Linked DNA regions of Homo sapiens: regions 2, 3 and 4 are each linked to region 1. Evidence: promoter capture Hi-C in 16 types of primary human blood cells and fetal thymus (Javierre and others, 2016). All regions are on one chromosome and are shown on one strand. The core of a region is centred on a gene start or on the middle of the fragment in contact, and the rest is flanking DNA. Distances in the headings are between cores, read along the strand shown. Region 1 holds the start of NFE2L1 (NFE2 like bZIP transcription factor 1). Region 2 holds the start of LINC03057 (long intergenic non-protein coding RNA 3057). Region 3 overlaps HOXB-AS4 (HOXB cluster antisense RNA 4). Region 4 holds the start of HOXB5 (homeobox B5).

What was found. Contacts are between HindIII fragments. The CHiCAGO score rates a contact against its expected background, and 5 or more counts as called.
Region 2: a fragment that was not itself captured here is called in contact with the fragment with the promoter of NFE2L1 in region 1 in 2 of 17 cell types (naive CD8 T cells and total CD4 T cells); the score reaches 5.4 in naive CD8 T cells.
Region 3: a fragment that was not itself captured here is called in contact with the fragment with the promoter of NFE2L1 in region 1 in 1 of 17 cell types (total CD8 T cells); the score reaches 5.4 in total CD8 T cells.
Region 4: a contact is called between a fragment that was not itself captured here and the fragment with the promoter of NFE2L1 in region 1, in 1 of 17 cell types (total CD8 T cells). The highest score is 5.1, in total CD8 T cells.

What each region holds. Positions count from the first base shown.
Region 1 is chr17:48,046,905-48,050,712 of GRCh38, forward strand. It overlaps NFE2L1 (NFE2 like bZIP transcription factor 1), which reads left to right and starts at 1,455. Exons shown (of 6, transcript NM_003204.3): 1 at 1,455-1,558; 2 at 3,703-3,808. It overlaps NFE2L1-DT (NFE2L1 divergent transcript), which reads right to left and starts at 1,149. Exons shown (of 2, transcript NR_170231.1): 1 at 721-1,149; 2 at 1-66. It also overlaps a transcript of COPZ2 not described here. RefSeq lists enhancers at 227-830, 675-864, 831-1,432, 935-1,174, 1,433-2,034 and a silencer at 1,585-1,864. The HindIII fragment of the contact is 11,044 bases long and covers 1-3,808 here.
Region 2 is chr17:48,645,394-48,649,201 of GRCh38, forward strand. LINC03057 (long intergenic non-protein coding RNA 3057) reads right to left here and starts at 1,459. Exons shown (of 2, transcript NR_186590.1): 1 at 1,212-1,459. It overlaps LINC02086 (long intergenic non-protein coding RNA 2086), which reads left to right. Exons shown (of 8, transcript NR_189645.1): 1 at 1-969. RefSeq lists enhancers at 996-1,664, 1,103-1,152, 2,043-2,252 and a silencer at 1,373-1,552. The HindIII fragment of the contact is 5,086 bases long and covers 1-3,808 here.
Region 3 is chr17:48,629,416-48,633,223 of GRCh38, forward strand. The region is part of intron 1 of HOXB-AS4 (HOXB cluster antisense RNA 4); the gene reads left to right. It overlaps MIR196A1 (microRNA 196a-1), which reads right to left and starts at 3,144; the gene lies at 3,075-3,144. The HindIII fragment of the contact is 1,917 bases long and covers 713-2,629 here.
Region 4 is chr17:48,590,201-48,594,008 of GRCh38, forward strand. It overlaps HOXB5 (homeobox B5), which reads right to left and starts at 3,579. Exons shown (of 2, transcript NM_002147.4): 1 at 2,921-3,579; 2 at 1,057-2,256. The coding sequence starts at 3,482. The coding sequence ends at 2,009. It overlaps HOXB-AS3 (HOXB cluster antisense RNA 3), which reads left to right and starts at 220. Exons shown (of 3, transcript NR_033201.2): 1 at 220-389. HOXB3 (homeobox B3) reads right to left here and starts at 41. Exons shown (of 5, transcript NM_001384749.1): 1 at 1-41. RefSeq lists a silencer at 3,203-3,252 and enhancers at 3,509-3,808, 3,718-3,787. The HindIII fragment of the contact is 1,687 bases long and covers 1,248-2,934 here.

The DNA.
Region 1 (3,808 bases), core at 205-2,704:
GGAGACACGCGTCAGTAGTCCCTGATAAATGGAAAGATCGCTTGAGTCCAGGAGTTCCAGTCCAGCCTAGAATAGGTAAAACATGCTCTCTGAATTAGTCTTTGAAACTGGTAAACTAGCTCAGAAGTTTTTTTAAGAATTCCATGAGTGGTTTGCTGGTGTACGTTTATTATATGCAGTGAAAGTACTTAATCTGCAAACCACCCCAAATTAAGCCCCTAACTCGCAAGCACAAAATGGACTCGATTATTTACTGAGTTATCAGTTGGCCTTGTCCTTAGTTGTACAGGGACTAATGACTCACCTATAAATAATGGGCTCTTCTAAGAAGACACAGTTGAGTTGACACCTCTTTGTCCTATAGCTGGGAGGAACGCATTGCAAACGCCAACCCAATGATTCCCTAAATGGGGTCTTCGCATCAGCTGCGTTAAAATCACCCCAGCAGGCAGGTTATCCGGCCGCCACTCCAGGGTCATTAAATCAGACTCTCCAGTGGGACCTCGGAATTCGTAGCTTAGCAAGCTCCCCAAGTGATGCTGGGAGTAAACTAACGTTTGAGAGTCACAAACATGTTTTGGCAATATAACCAGATGGGACTGGAGAAATTAAAAAATGAGAAACATCCCTAAAAAAGCAAGACTAAGCTGCGTGGGAGGCCAAACGAGGGGGGTCCTTTGGGCTGTTTCTACCATGACAAAAATCGCCATTACCCCACACCTCTCACACCGCCAACGTTCCGCCAACGTTCCGCCAACGTCCCACCACCCTCATGATATCCGTCCGCGGTACTGCTCCAGCGAAGGTACCCTTGCCTGGGCCATGAGGCGCAACCGTCCCTCACAGCTGGGGTGGCTTCTCCAGGTTCGCACCGAGGGGAAGTTGGGGTACCGGTTTCCGCCGCCAGCACCCAAGATGGCGGCACGAGCGTCGCAACCACAAGAACCACATGCTTCGTGTCCCGCCTCAGCATTCTCGGGTCTCACTAGACTTTTGCAAGTCACTGTGGGAACCCTCAAGGCGAGGGTGTTCCGCACTCTGGCGGCGATACACCTTCCTATTCCCTGACCTAGGCCTTCATTCCCCCGCCACAGAAAGCGCTGGAAGCGCCCAACCTGGATACTTCACCCAACGCCCAAGCCCACTAACATCGCCCGCCGCGAAGGCGCGGCCGAGGGGCCCAGAATGCCAGACACTAGGGCCTTCGCCCTCCTCATTGGTGGGTCCATACCGCGGGGCGGGCCTAGGTACTCATTGGGCCGGGAATTATGTCAGTCTTGGGAAATCAGGTCCGGGGATGAGGAGGTACACTCAGCCATTGGGCCCTCTCTGCTGCCAATCAGAGGGACATCCGTCGACGGCCCCGGCCTCGGCTCGTTGATTGGAGAAACTGTTCCTAGGGTGTTTGCGGCGGGCGGGTTTCCGAGTGCGGTAGCAGGAGGGGGCGGGGAGGTAAGCGGAGGCTCCGAGCTCTAGGCCGGCCGGCGGTGGCGGCGGCGAGGCCGGGACTCGGGCTTAGGGCCTGCTGTGGAGGCAGCGGCGGACGCCGAGCTAAGCAGTGGGTATCGGGCACATTCCTTTCCCAGAAGGGAGGGTTGCAGCGCCGCGGGGCCGAGGCTTATGGGGCGACGGGATGGTGCTGAGGTGCAGGAGGCGGGGGCCGAGCGGGGTTCCCGCCAGAGCCCGGCCCTGGGCCTGACAGGGAGGGGCCCCGCGCGGGGCCGAGAGGAAAGCTGGCTCCGGGGTGGGATGGACTGGGCAGGGTTGAGGGCACGAGAAGGCGTGGTGTGAGGCCTGGACTTGGGAGTGGGGTGGGGCCATCGGGACGGAGGGCGGGGTGGGGTTTGCTGTAAGGGTGGGTCAAGGCCAGGGAAGTAGCACTTGTTCGCTGGCCGCCCCTGGAGGCTAGAAGCTCCGGCGCCGAGAGTGGGCATGGCGACTTGGTCTCAGCCGGACTCGGGTATCCGGGCAGGGTGGGACCAGCCTCAGGCTATGGGCCCTGCACCTACTTGATTTTTAAGGGACTTTGTCCGGTTCCTCGAACTTAATTGGCTCCTGGGAGGTTTTAGTAATAAATTGCGTGAGAACGGGAGGGTAGCGTAAGCAGGAATTCTGGGTCGCAATTGTGTTTACTCTGACCAGAGAGAGGGAGTGTGAGTGTGTGTGTGTGCGCACGTTCGTGTGTGTACGTATAGCTCGCTCTCCCCCTGTAGAATGAAGTTGGTAGATGGGTCACAACGCAGGAGAGGAGAGGCGGTATGTCTTGGTTTGTGACATTAATGGAAGCTCAAAAGTGGAGACCAGAAACAGATTTACTTCCTCTGCACTGGGCAGTCTGGCTAGAGAACGTGGCCATATCCTTCTGCTTTGGCTCAGAAGGTCATATGAATGAAAATAAAACCTGCCTATGCAAATTCTGGACGGAATAGTCCTGCGTAGTAGGGCCCCCACCATCCCTCTCCTTTTTTTCTTTCCTTTTCTTTTCTTTCTTTTTTTTCTTTTTTTGAGACGGAGTTTTGCTCTTGTTGCCCAGGCTGGAGTGCAGTGGCGCGATATCGGCCCACCACAACCTCCGTTTCCTGGGTTCAAGCGATTCTCCTGTCTCAGCCTCCCGAGTAGCTGGGATTACAGGCATGCGCCACCACGCCCGGCTAATTTTTGTATTTTTAGTTGAGATGGGGTTTCTCCATGTTGTTCAGGCTGGTCTCAAACTCCCGACCTCGGGTGATCCGCCCTCCTCGGCCTCCCGAAGTGCTGGGATTACAGGCGTCGGCCCTTTTCCTTTTTTTTCTTTTGTAAGTTGTGAGGATAGGAAAGGGAAATCAGATTTCAAAGTTCAGAAAACAAAAGGCATTCTTCTTCTGGGTGAAGTGGTGGCCTGAACATTGTCCTTTTGTCCTTCCACACTCTCACTGTTTAATAATCTTGCCTTTTTGAACTGAGAAAAGACAACTGTTATGGGTGGTTTTCTCCCGAGGGGTGAAAATCCAGCTTTACTTTTAAGACAGGAAATGGGCTTCTCATGTGAAAATAGAAGCTGGGTAATGCGCCTGTAGTGGGGGAGGAGGGCTGGTAAATAAAACAAAGGTGTAAGATATTTTGGATGACCTGGTTATTGTCTGCTTATTCAAACCAAGCTACATTTTAGGATATTGCACATTTAATATTCAGTAACTGAGATCATTCGTGATCAGTAGCTTTCTTTGATAGTTCTTCTATGATCGGTTGCTATATTTTGGGTTTTTTTTCTGAGAGTGTAAGTAGTCCTTTCTTCCTGTAAAAGTGGCCTTTAGGCCAGGCACAGTGGCTCACGCCTGTGATCCCAGCACTTTGGGGGGCCGAGGCGGGCAGATCACCTGAGGTCAGGAGCTTGAGACCAGCCTGGCCAACATAGTGAAACCCCATCTCTACTAAAAATACAAAAATTAGCAGGGCGTGGTGGCAGGCGCCTGTAATCCCAGATACTTGGGAGGCTGAGGCAGGAGAATCGCTTGAATGCAGAAGGTGGAGGTTGCAGTGAGCACAGATCACGCCACTGCACTCTAGCCTGGGCGACAGAGTGAGACTCTGTCTCAAAAAAAAAAAAAGTGAAAGTGTCCTTTGAATGTGTTTTCTACCTTCTACTGTGAAGGTTTTCCTACCCTGATCATGATGTGAAAAGTATGGAATCTTATCCTGTTGCTTTTGTGATTCCCATTTCAGGTTTCTCTGGAAACCCCCCTGGTAAGTGTGGAGGAGGCGGGACACTCTGACCCAAGACGAAAGGCCTGTAGCTCCAGCCAAAGAAAATAAACCTTAGGAGGGAGAA
Region 2 (3,808 bases), core at 682-3,181, 600 kb after region 1:
AGTCAGTTGCACATTCCGCCTCTGGTATGTGGACTATGTGAAATATACCATGCAATGTTCTACTTTGCGAGGGGGGAGGCATATAGATGAAAATATGAATTTCCCTTCTACTGCCTTTATTATTGAGCACAGTTGGGAGCACATAATTTCACATCTCTTTCGCATGTCTGTATAAATCCTCAATCTTTAAACGGTGCTTGACTACTCCGAGAGGCACAGTTGCTGTCATATAAGATTCCTAGCCGACTCCGGCGAGTTACTAATTCCTCTCAGACTCCACAATACCCACGATGCACGATGCACACCCCTTTATGCTTGCTTTTCTTTACATGCCTTTTCAAAGGCGAATAATTTTTGTATTGACCCATGAGTCAGTCCATACAGTTTGAAATCCTTTGGATGCCCTCTGCCCACTCCCATAAACAACAGGTCCCTCCACAAAAATGCACATGCCCCGTTTTTGTGAGTGTGGGTTTCAAATAAGATGGCGTCTCCTGGCATTCCTTAGATTCAGATACACGCTCTCTCAGGCAGGAGGCTGCTCACAGTCCAGAGGGGAAGAAAACCTATGAGGCCCCCAAAAGCCAAAGCAAGAGACTCCCCCAAGTATTCTGCCCCCTCCACGCCAGGAGGCAGCTAGAGAGACAGCGCGCGGGAGAGCTGATTCTGCACCTTGGGGAGCTGGGGGCTTCTGTCTAGACCAAGAGTTCCAGGCCAATTCCTAATTTCCGTTAGGAAAAGTGGCCCTTCTTCCATCCCAAGCGATTCCTCACCCCCAAGGCTGCTCAGGGCGTCTGGCCCTTGCCTCTCTCACGGCATCCGCCTGGAATCCGGGGTTGTGAGCAGGAGGCCCAGGACGCAGGGCCTCAGGCTGGGCGGGGCACTGAGCACTCGGCTCTGGGGAGCCAGGGTTTCCGGTAGAACGAGGGGAGGCGACCCCCTTTCCCCACACACACACCTGTTGGAGAGGTAGGGTCGGGTGCCAGCGGACAGGGAGGCCAAGGCGTTTTCGGGTGCGCCCCGAGGCCCTACCCGGGAAGCTGCCTCGGTCTGGAGATCAAGGTTAAGCCGGTGGCCCCGGGAAGCCCACGCCTGCCACGGGCGGTTGGTCCTGAAAGCTCGGGCCACGGGGCTGCCCAGCTTGGAGAGGGGCCTTTCACGCCGCAGTCCCCAGCTGCGAGAGGAAGGGCTGCGCCCGCCTCCTCACCTACCTCTCGGAACCACGCCGTCCCCCGCGCGTCTTCGTAGACTGCAGGAGTCCAGGGCGTCTGGGGACTGTGACGGCGCCCAAGGCGGGGGATGTGGCGGCTCTGGGTCGCCGCCTTCTGCCCCCGCCTCTGTGAGGCCTCTCGAGGCAGTGTCTGTGTCTGGGGCAGCGACGCCGACGGCGCTGGGGGCGCGAAGGGGCTCACGCTCCTGCGTTCCCCTGGCGCCGGTGAGTGGCGGGCGAGGACAGGGTCCGGGAGGGGGATAGGCGAGAGCGCTTCCTGCCTCCGCCCGGGCGGGGCTCGGCCGTCTCACCTGCCCCCACCCACGGCGCCGTCGGATCCCAGAGCGGCTGGTGAGGAGATGGGCCTGGCGCGCCGCGGGGAGGCCAGAGGCGCGGAGGAGCAGCGCCCAGATGGCCGGAGAGAGCAGAGAGAGAGAGAAGAGAGAGAGAAGAGAGAGAGAGAGAGAAGAGAGAGAGAGGGAGAGAGGCAGAGAGGGAGAGAGGGAGGGAGAGAGGGAGGGAGGGAGGGAGGGAGAGAGAGAGAGAGAGAGAGAGAGAGAGAGAGAATATGAGAATATGAGAATATAAAAGGCAAGAGAGAAGCAGATCCAAGGGCGCGCCCAGAGAAACATCAAATGCACAAATAGACAAAAGAGGTAGAGGAGAAAGCTGAGTCCCAGGGGCTGAAAGAAGCCATGGGCGTCTGAAGCGAGCGACAAGTTATCCTTGGGAGTTGGAAATGTGAGAGGGAGGGGCGAGGCCGAAGGAGGCTGAGAAGGGGAGGGGGCGCTCACACCCTGGGCGGGAGGCGACTGATCCACACTTAGGGCTCCGAATCCGGAGAAAGAGAGCGCCGGACCCTCCTCCGCCCACCTCCCGCCCCAGCCGCAGCCCAGCGACTTCCCGCCATCCTCGGCCACCGAGCGGCTCCTGCCTGGGGTTGTTCGACCGGGATGGCTGCACCAGGCTGAAGGTTGTCCCTCTACCTGCCTCCTTTCTTCTGTTCCCTGTGCCTTACATGGGTTCCTCCCTATTCTATGAACCCAGAGGGAACGACCTTGGCCAAGGTTAGAGAAGGAGCTTGAAAGTTTCACTTTCCATCTTAGCCCTCAGGACGCCTTTGCGTTTTGGCCCTTCGTTAGCGTGCTATCCTGGAATTGCAGGCTCTTCTCTTTATTTCTGAGACCCAAATAGAGGTTTAACCTCCTTAAAATCAGTGAAACTACGACAAACAGTGGCATTCCTGGCTGTCTGGTCTCTAAGGAGTGCCCCCCCTCCCTGACCTCAGCCCTGAGACCCTGCTTCCTCCTCAACCTGCATGGGACTGGGGACACCCCCTCACAATCCAGTCCCTTCCTGCAGGTGGTTGTCCAGGGGGCATGTAGAGGTGTGCCTGAGCTCTGTGTCCTAAGCCTGGCTCTGCCACTGACTTCAGCCCCCACCCCTTCTCCTTTTAGGCCTCAGTTTTTCCTCTGTAAAATGGGCAGAGTGATTTTACAAGTGATTTTACCAAGTGAGAACTGTTGAAATATCTTACTATAATTGTGGATTTGTCCATTTCTCCTTTCAATTCTATCATTTTCGGTGCTTCATATATTTTTGAAGCTCTGTTATTAGGTGTGTACATTTAAGGTTGATGTGTCTTCCTAGGTGTGTACCACATTTAGATTTAGGATTGATGTGTCTTCTTTTTTGAGATGAAGTCTTGATCTGTCACCCAGGCTGGAGTGCAATGGTGCAATCTCGGCTCACTGCAACCTCCGCCTCTTGAGTTCAAGCGATTCTCCCACTTCAGCCTCCCGAGTAGCTGGGACCACAGGTGTGTGCCACCACGCCCAGCTAATTTGTGTAGTTTTAGTAGAGACGGGTTTTCACCATGTTGGCCAGGCTGGTCTCGGCTCCTGACGTCAGGTGATCCGCTTGCCTCAGCCTCCCAAAGTGCTGGGATTAGAGGTGTGAGCCACGGCTCCTAGCCATGATATGTCTTCTTATGCTTTGCTTCTGCAGCCTCCTCTCATTTGCAGGTTCTGTTGAGCTTGAACCGCTGAGAGAAAAATGCATCCAAATGGGAATTTTATTCTATATCCACGTAAACATGAATATAGAAATATGACAAAACTAAATTTTGCTTCCAAAATGTTTTTGTTTTGTTTTGTTTTTGTTTTTTTGTTTGTTTGTTTTTTCTGAGACAGAGTTTCGCTCTTGTTGCCCAGGCTGGAGTGCAATGGCACAATCCCAGCTCACCGCAACCTCTGCCTCCCGGGTTCTCCTGCCTCAGCCTCCCTAGTAGCTGGGATTACAGGCATGTGCCACCATGCGCAGCTAATTTTTTGTATTTTTAATAGAGACGGGGTTTCTCCATGTTGGTCAGGCTGGTCTCGAACTCCCGACCTCAGGTGATCCGCCCGCCTCAGCCTCCCAAAGTGCTGAGATTACAGGCATGAGCCACTGCACCCGGCCAACGCCCAGCTAATTTTGTATTTTTAGTAGAGATGGGGTTTCTCCAGTTCGTCAGGCTGGTCTCGAACTCCCTACCTCAGGTCATCCGCCCGCCTCAGCCTCCCAAAGTGCTGGGATTACAGGCGTGAGCCACCATGC
Region 3 (3,808 bases), core at 421-2,920, 580 kb after region 1:
GAGCAAAACTGCTCCATACCCCACCCCCAATCCTAAACAGAAAGAAGGAAAACCCTGCCTTCCCTTGCAGCCTTTTGCCATTCCCTGCACTGGAGCCTCGCCTGAACACAGCTGGGGCCAGTAGCTGGTAGCTTGGAGAAGGGCAAGCAGGGAAAAAAGCGCAGCTCCTGGCCACACTGGGGCCCAGAGCAGCCAACAGTGAGGCCGAGGTTTGAAGAGCAGAGGCCGACCAGCCGGTGAGTGCCTATGCTGTGGGGGTGACTTTTGGAAGGGTCCTTGTCAGTAAGAAGAGAGAGAAAATCTAGAGGAAGGGAAGGAAATGGGAGAAGAAAGAAAAACAATAAGTGAGAATGGGGAAAAATAGTTTGTTTTTAATTAATAAGCTTAGCTGAAATTTACGCGTGTTTAATGTAAATAGATGTGTGTGTCCTATATGTATATTTCAAATCAATATTTCTGTATGGGGAACCCAGTGTGCAAATGCACTCTGCTCTATACTGTATATAGAATATGTAATAAATAAATCTGCCCAACTATGAAACTTGCTGTGCTTGGGCGTTCGTGTATGCAGGATCTAATCGTGCATATGTGGATGCATGCATAACCTCTGTGAGTGATGGAGGTTTCTGATTCTGCTCGTGTAAGAAGATCAGTTACCCAAAAGGTTGTGTGTACATTTTTATAACCATCACACACCTATGGAAAAGGCAAAAGCTTGGGTATTTGTGTACTTGAATTATGGCTATAAAATATTAGCTAATTCAGATGTCGCACTTGAAAATCTGTCCCTTGACTTGATATTCAAGCAAAATATACAGCGTATCCTCAAACAAGTGCATATGACTTAACACTACGTTGATTCTACGACAACTTCTTTCCAAAATGTTTCTCTGGAAGGTAAAATAAATGCTTCAAAGTGGCCCAGAAGAGGTTATGAAATTTTGTGACTTCTTTGTTTGACCATAAAATCCTTTACTGTGTTTCTTACCCAAGACCGCAGGGACGGTGTGCATTGTGTGATGCCTATTTCATGACAGCGATGAGCGCGGGGGTGGAGGCACAGTTACTTATAAGCACATGTGTCTCACAGAATTATGAAGCAGAGGTGGACAGAGATGAGCCGAGTGTGAAAGTGACTGTGGAGGTCAAGCAAAAGCACTGCTGTGTACAACAAAATTAGAAAAGTCCCCAAATCTATGTCTCCAAGCACCAGAGGTATTTCTTCAGACTCAAGATCACAGTCCAGACCCACTCTGGGAAAGAGTGAGGCATGAGGACACTTGCCCCAGTGGGAAAGGACACAAGATCGCAAAATCCTTACCCTTTATGCAAAACGGCCTCCAAAACAGGTATCACATCGAATCTGCATACTCAGGTTCAAATCTCGGTGCTTCCACACCCCCCAAGTGGGGATCTTAATTGTGAAGTAATGAAATCTTCTGCCAAACCTCCCTCCCAGGATGTCAGAGGTGAAAGGAAGGACTGAGAGGTCAGTGGCCCAAGCCCACCTCAGGAATCTTCTTACCAACTCTCAGCCATCAAGGATATCCAAGGCGATGGGGGTGGCTGACTCCTTGGGAGGGGGCATCCAGGAGGCCAAACGGGGTGGGCGGCAGGCAGGCGGAAAGGAGGCGAGCAGGTAGAAGGTTATTACGAAATTGCTTCCATAAAACCTGTGGCTGTTGTAAAACTCTGCTTTCCAAAGACTTTATTTCCTCCTTTCTCTCTAACATTCTCCTTTTTTCTTTTTACAGCACTTTTCCTGGGAGGGGGTGGCCAAGGGACACCAGGGATGGAAGACAGTCAGGCTCTGAGTGACTGGGCAGGTTTGTGAGAGGCCCAGGGAGAAGTGAGATAAGGCCGCAGGGACGCGCCAGGCCATCTCCACCCAGACCAGAGGATGAGAAACTGTCAAGGGACAGAGTTGTTAGCCTTTGCTTATCAGGACAGTGGGTTGAAGGCTCCATTTCCCCTAGGCTAGGGGTGGGTCTCCCTAATGCCCCTCTGCTCTAGCAGAAGCCCCTTGTTCAGAGACCCCCTGGCCCTCCAAGTCAGCCTGGCGCCGAAGCCCCATCCGGTCGGGCCTCTTTCCCGGGCCCCTTTGCACATTTCCTCTGCCTCAAGCAGCAGGGGGAAGGTTTGGGAACAAAAGTTAGCTTATGCTTTGGAAAGTCCCCCTTCTTCCACCAGCACTTCTAGTTATTCCTTTCCTGGGCACAGGGCCAACAGCCTTAAGAGGACCGAGGTCAGAGAGGGTATCAGAGTCTTGCCCTGCCCAACCCCTGGTTTCATCCCTTGTCACTGCATCAGTCGGGGTTGAATTGTCCAACAACCTGGGCTCCCCATTAGCTTGCAAGTCAGGCCCCTCTCCAAGGAGGTGGCACTCAGGACCTATGTGTACCCCCAGCCCAGCCCAAGGCCAGTGGGAAGCCTTTGGCCACTGGGGTGGGTGGGGAGGAAAAAGTCAACTGAGGGATTAGGAAAGGAAGGACTTTTCGGACCTACTTCTGTAGGTCTGGTCCCATAGGGGGCCTTCGACAGGACCCTGAGGGCTTTAGGCTGAGATTGCAAGAGCTCTCAGTGTTTGCCTTTCAGAATGAGACCTACTGAGCCCTCTTCAAGGACCTGAAGCTTCCTGCTGAGGTGGAGCACCAGCCCGCAAAGAGTTACAAAAACCTCAAGAACCCCCTGCATTTCTTTTGAAATCAAATATTTGTGAAGTTGGGGAGAGTTTCTCTGGAAAGTTCTGGATGTAGTTGAGAGCTCAGAGACCCTAAGGCTGGAAGTTGGAGCTCTGACTGCCATCTTTGGGTTGGGCTGAACAGCCCAACAGGGCCAGGGAGGTGCCTCGGGAGAGTTGACTGCTCCTCATCCCCCTTCCCCTCCTAACACACACACAAAAAAACATTCAGAAGTGGGAAGACACTTCCCAGATCTCTTCTCTGGGGGAACATCCTTGTTGCTCCTGGATGAAGGACCTCAAACCTCTTCCCCATTTTGCAAGGTTGATCTTCCAGTCCTGATTCTGCTCCCCTCCCCCAACTCCTCCAGCTAAGCAAGGAGCAGTAACTGCCGTGAATCGGGTGGTTTAATGTTGTTGTGTTCAGAAACCCAGGCCCAACAACATGAAACTACCTAATTCACTCAGCAGTTCCAATTCAAGCTCTAGGTCAAGAGCTCACTGGGGGCAAACCCTGTGGCCATTTTTTTGTGGGCCAAAAAGCGGCTTAACTTCATTTTGCTCCACCTCTTCCCCAACAGAAGAACCCAGTTGCTACTAAACAACACATCGGAAGAACTGAACCCAGGACTCTAGGTAAAACCATTTTGGAGCCGGTCCTGATAGCTCAGATTCCAGAGACATTTGCTGCCTTCCAGGAGCCCTGGCCAGAGAAGAAGACCCTAGACACAGGCACAAGCCTGGGCAGGGCCTCTTTGATATACCTGCTCAGTCTCTGCCTCTCAGCCCAGCTGGAGGTCTCCACAGATAAAAAGAATTCTCAACTTCAAACAGATACGAAGGTGCATCTATACTCAGCACCCTGCTAGCCCCTGTATTCCAGGTCACCCAGCCTCCCAGTGTAGCTCTGAGAGGCCAGATCTTCAAGTCCTACACACCCCCCAGCTTTGAGATTGGGGCTCAGACAGGAGAGTGAGACAAAAGAGTGCTGAGAAAGAAAGTGACAGAGAGAAAGGTGGAAAAGCAGAGTGTCAGAAAGTTTCGGGAATTCTAGGGAACAAACAGAGGAAGAATGGGATTTGGAGGGGAAAGCCGGTTGATCTGAACAGTTGCTGTGAAGGCACCCTG
Region 4 (3,808 bases), core at 841-3,340, 540 kb after region 1:
CCTCTGCCCCCTTCCCCACCACAGCGAGCAGTTAAAGTGTCACTTAACATTCTGGAGAATGTGAAATATACTGCGCGGTGTCAACTCCCCAAAACCATAAAACTAACTTTATGGACCTCACGTGACTTTCTCGAGCCAGTGAGGGGTATCTGTCTGACTTCTCGGCGATTTTTACGATCTAACTTCGAGATAAAACCCCTATCCATTTGACATCTAAATGTCATAGCGACTTTTGGGATAGTTTGCTATCGACAAAGGGAGACAAAGTCAAGGGGTGAAGGGAAAGGAGGGCCAAGTAGAGCCTCCACGACCCTCGGCTTCCTCCTCACCAGCTCCCCCTCCCTCCAAGTCCAGTAAGAAGTTGGGCCAAGCTGGAAGGGATTGACCGGGTAAGTGTCCAGACTTGACTCTTGTGCTCAGGGTGGAGGCTGACTTGGATGGAGGTAGACTGGGCCCTAGCCCTGGGCCAGGCTGAAAGGGAACCAGGGGTCTTTCTGAAAGGACCCTAACTCCTAATCAAGAGGGAAGATCAGTTGGGCCCTTGGAGAGAAGGAGCCCTTGATAAGGGTAGGGAAGGCTGAGGGTGAGAGAAATCCTTTGAAATCCAGCTGAATTTTTTTTTTTTTTTTTTTTGCTTTAGTTGGTGGCAGAGCTGAATTGGGACTTGGAGTAGGAGACAGGGGGCTGGGCAGGCCTCTACCACTCCCAAAAGGCCAGGAGCCTCCTGCTGAGGACTTAGGCCCAAATTACTTTCCCAGAAGAGTTTTCCAGAGGCTTCCTTGGCCAGCTAGTGGAAGACCAGGATGAAGTCTAGCTCAGCCTTTCCTCTGCCCCAGCCCCACATGGGGTTTCTGGGCCTTGGAGTCCCCCAGGCATGAAGGTCTGTTCCCTGGCCCAAGCACTGTTGACCAAGCCAGTGACTTACATGGCTGAGAAGAGTTGTTGGGGAGCAGCCTACTTTTTCTTCCCTGCACCCCAGATCTATTGAGAATGGTGCAGGGTGTGCCCGGGATGGGAGAGGCAGACCCCTCGGAGAAAAGACAAGTGGAAGGGCAATGGAGTGGGGGAAACATTTATTTGACTTCCAGGAAAGCTACAAACAAATACCAAAAGCGAATCACTGAGACAGGCCCCGCAAAGACAGATTTCACACGTAGCACAGCATCCACTCGCTCACTACAAATGGTCTTGGAAGCAAGATGGGTAAGGGAGAGATGGGTCTGACCCAGACTATCCCCATATTTACAAGCTTTGGGCCCTCTAGCCAGACCCATGGATTCACAGAGAAATACACAAGACATTTTGCACTGAGGATCATTTTTGTTTCCGTATACTCCCAGACCAGGCCTTGTGGGGCCTACCCAGGCAGCAGGAACTTAAATCTCACTATCTTCTTTCTCTCTTCTCAATACCATCCCTTTGGTCCTCCCTAGCCCCTTCCCACCCTAGGACCAAGCCCCTAGGAGACTTGGGCCTAGGGAGTGAGGAGGGAGGAGGAGGAGAATGAAAAGGGACTCCATCTCCGAAGCCAGCTCAGCTTGACCCCACTGCGGCACTACCCCACCTCAACTGCTGCCCCTTACAGAAGTTTCCAGCTGAAACTCAAAATACAGCGATCATCTTTTTATAAATAAGTTAGAACACAGATGGGGAGGGGAGAGTTCACATTAAACATGCGAATTTCTTTTTTTTTTTTTCCTGGGGGAAAGACTGCAACCACAGACACAAACATTCAGAAACACTGGCGGATTTGGGACAAGCAGAAGGGAGTTGGGAGCATGGAAGGAAAATAATAATAATAATTATTATTAACAATAATAACAAGATAACCAGTCCAGGAGAGAGGGAGCCACAGGAAGACCTAAGACCAAACGAAATATCGTAACACAAGGCGAGGCAGGCTTGTGGGAACCGGTCCCCAGCGGGCGGCGGCAGAGCGGGGAGGATTGGAGGGGCCAGGGCTGGGGGTGGCACGGGCTCTTGGGCCGCTGGGCTCCTCTGGGCGGGCTCAGGGCTGGAAGGCGCTGCCAGCTGTAGCCAGGCTCATACTTTTCAATTTGTTGTCCTTCTTCCACTTCATGCGCCGGTTCTGGAACCAGATCTTGATCTGGCGCTCGGACAGGCAGAGTGCGTGGGCGATCTCGATGCGCCGTCGCCGGGTCAGGTAGCGGTTGAAGTGGAACTCCTTTTCCAGCTCCAGGGTCTGGTAGCGGGTATACGCGGTCCGGGCCCTTTTCCCGTCCGGCCCGGTCATATCTGGAGCAGATAGAGGAAAGCCGCAAGGCAACATTATTCCGGTTAAGGGAGGGGGCACTGGGTGGGAGGGGGCGGGGGAGCAGGACCCAGGCGTCCCGGCACCCAGCTCACCACAGCTCCAATCCTCTCTACTCCAGATGCCCACATTCAAGCTCGATTTCTGCACCCCTTTCTACTGCATCCCCCACTTCTGCAGGCAGCCAGTGCGCCCGGCTTTGTCTCTTGCTCGCTCCTAGTGCCTCACCCTTGGCTGGGCTCAGGCGGCCGCTCGCCCCGGGAGGGAGGAGAGCGGTTGCACTTTTGCCCCGGAAAGCTCCTTTTACTGTTCACCCCTTCTTTGCTAGCGACAGTCTCAAAATTTCAGGGGTAAGCAGGACCCTTCCCCACATTATATGAACCCCATCCTTTATCCTAAAGCTGGTTCAGCTGCGCTAATAAAAACCTAAGCCGAAGCTGGAAACAAATTATTAAAAATACCCCCCTCTTAACAGAGAGACCCTTTTTGGCTCTGTCTACGAAGCTATGAGGCCCCTCTTAGATACTTCTCCCCCTTAGAAAAATGAATCTATATTTAGGGTAAAGCCAAGCTCTCCTTGTCCCCCCGATCCCACCCCAAAACGCAGAGAAGGAAAGCCGAGAAGACAAAAAAGAGAGAGAGAATTACCATGGCTGATGTGAAGCTTCCTCATCCAGGGGAATATTTGCGGAGTCTGCCCCTCGGGCGCGGCTGTGGAGGTGGCCATGGGCTCTGGCTGCGCCCGAGCTAGGCTGGGGCTGCTTAGCTGGCTTGCCGCTTCCTCAGGCTCCGAGGACGCGCTGGCCTCGTCTATTTCGGTGAAATTGGCGCTGGAGCTGGCTGAGGTCGCCTGGTCGGAGGGGGACGAAGCAGAGGGCTTGGCGCCGTGGCTGTCGCCGTTGGTGCAGGGCAGGGACTCGGGCGAGGACAGGGAGCAGCTCGAAGCCGCTTGCCTGAAGCGGGGCTCCTGGGCGGGCGCGGGGAAGGCGCGCGAGCTCTCGCCCACCGCCCCAAAGTGGCTGGAGGAGGCCGAGGAGCGGTTGACGCTGAGGTCCATCCCATTGTAATTGTAGCCGTAAGAGCCGGTGTGCATGGCAGCGGGATCCCTGTAAGAGCCGCTCAGAGAGCTGCCACTGCCATAATTTAGCAACTGATAGTCCGGGCCATTTGGATAACGCCCCGAGAAGGAGTTTACAAAGTACGAGCTCATTTGGGTGATTTTGGAGGGCTTGATTTGTGGATCGTGGTCGTTATAACCCTGTGCTTCACGATTTATGATGTATTAATGAATTATAGCGATGCACTGTACTTCGTTTTGCTATGTATGCGGCCAAATATGGGGGGGGGGTTGGAAGGGGGGTGGGGGGCGTTAGGGAATCACGTGCTTTTGTTGACCAGTCGTAAATTCTCGCTGATGACCTCAAGAGGTAATTCATGCTCTATGGTTACAAATAATGACGATCCGAGAATCGTTAGGGCCGATTCAATGCGAGCCTCCGAGAGAGGGGGAAAAAAGGAGAAGGGGGAGAAACAGAG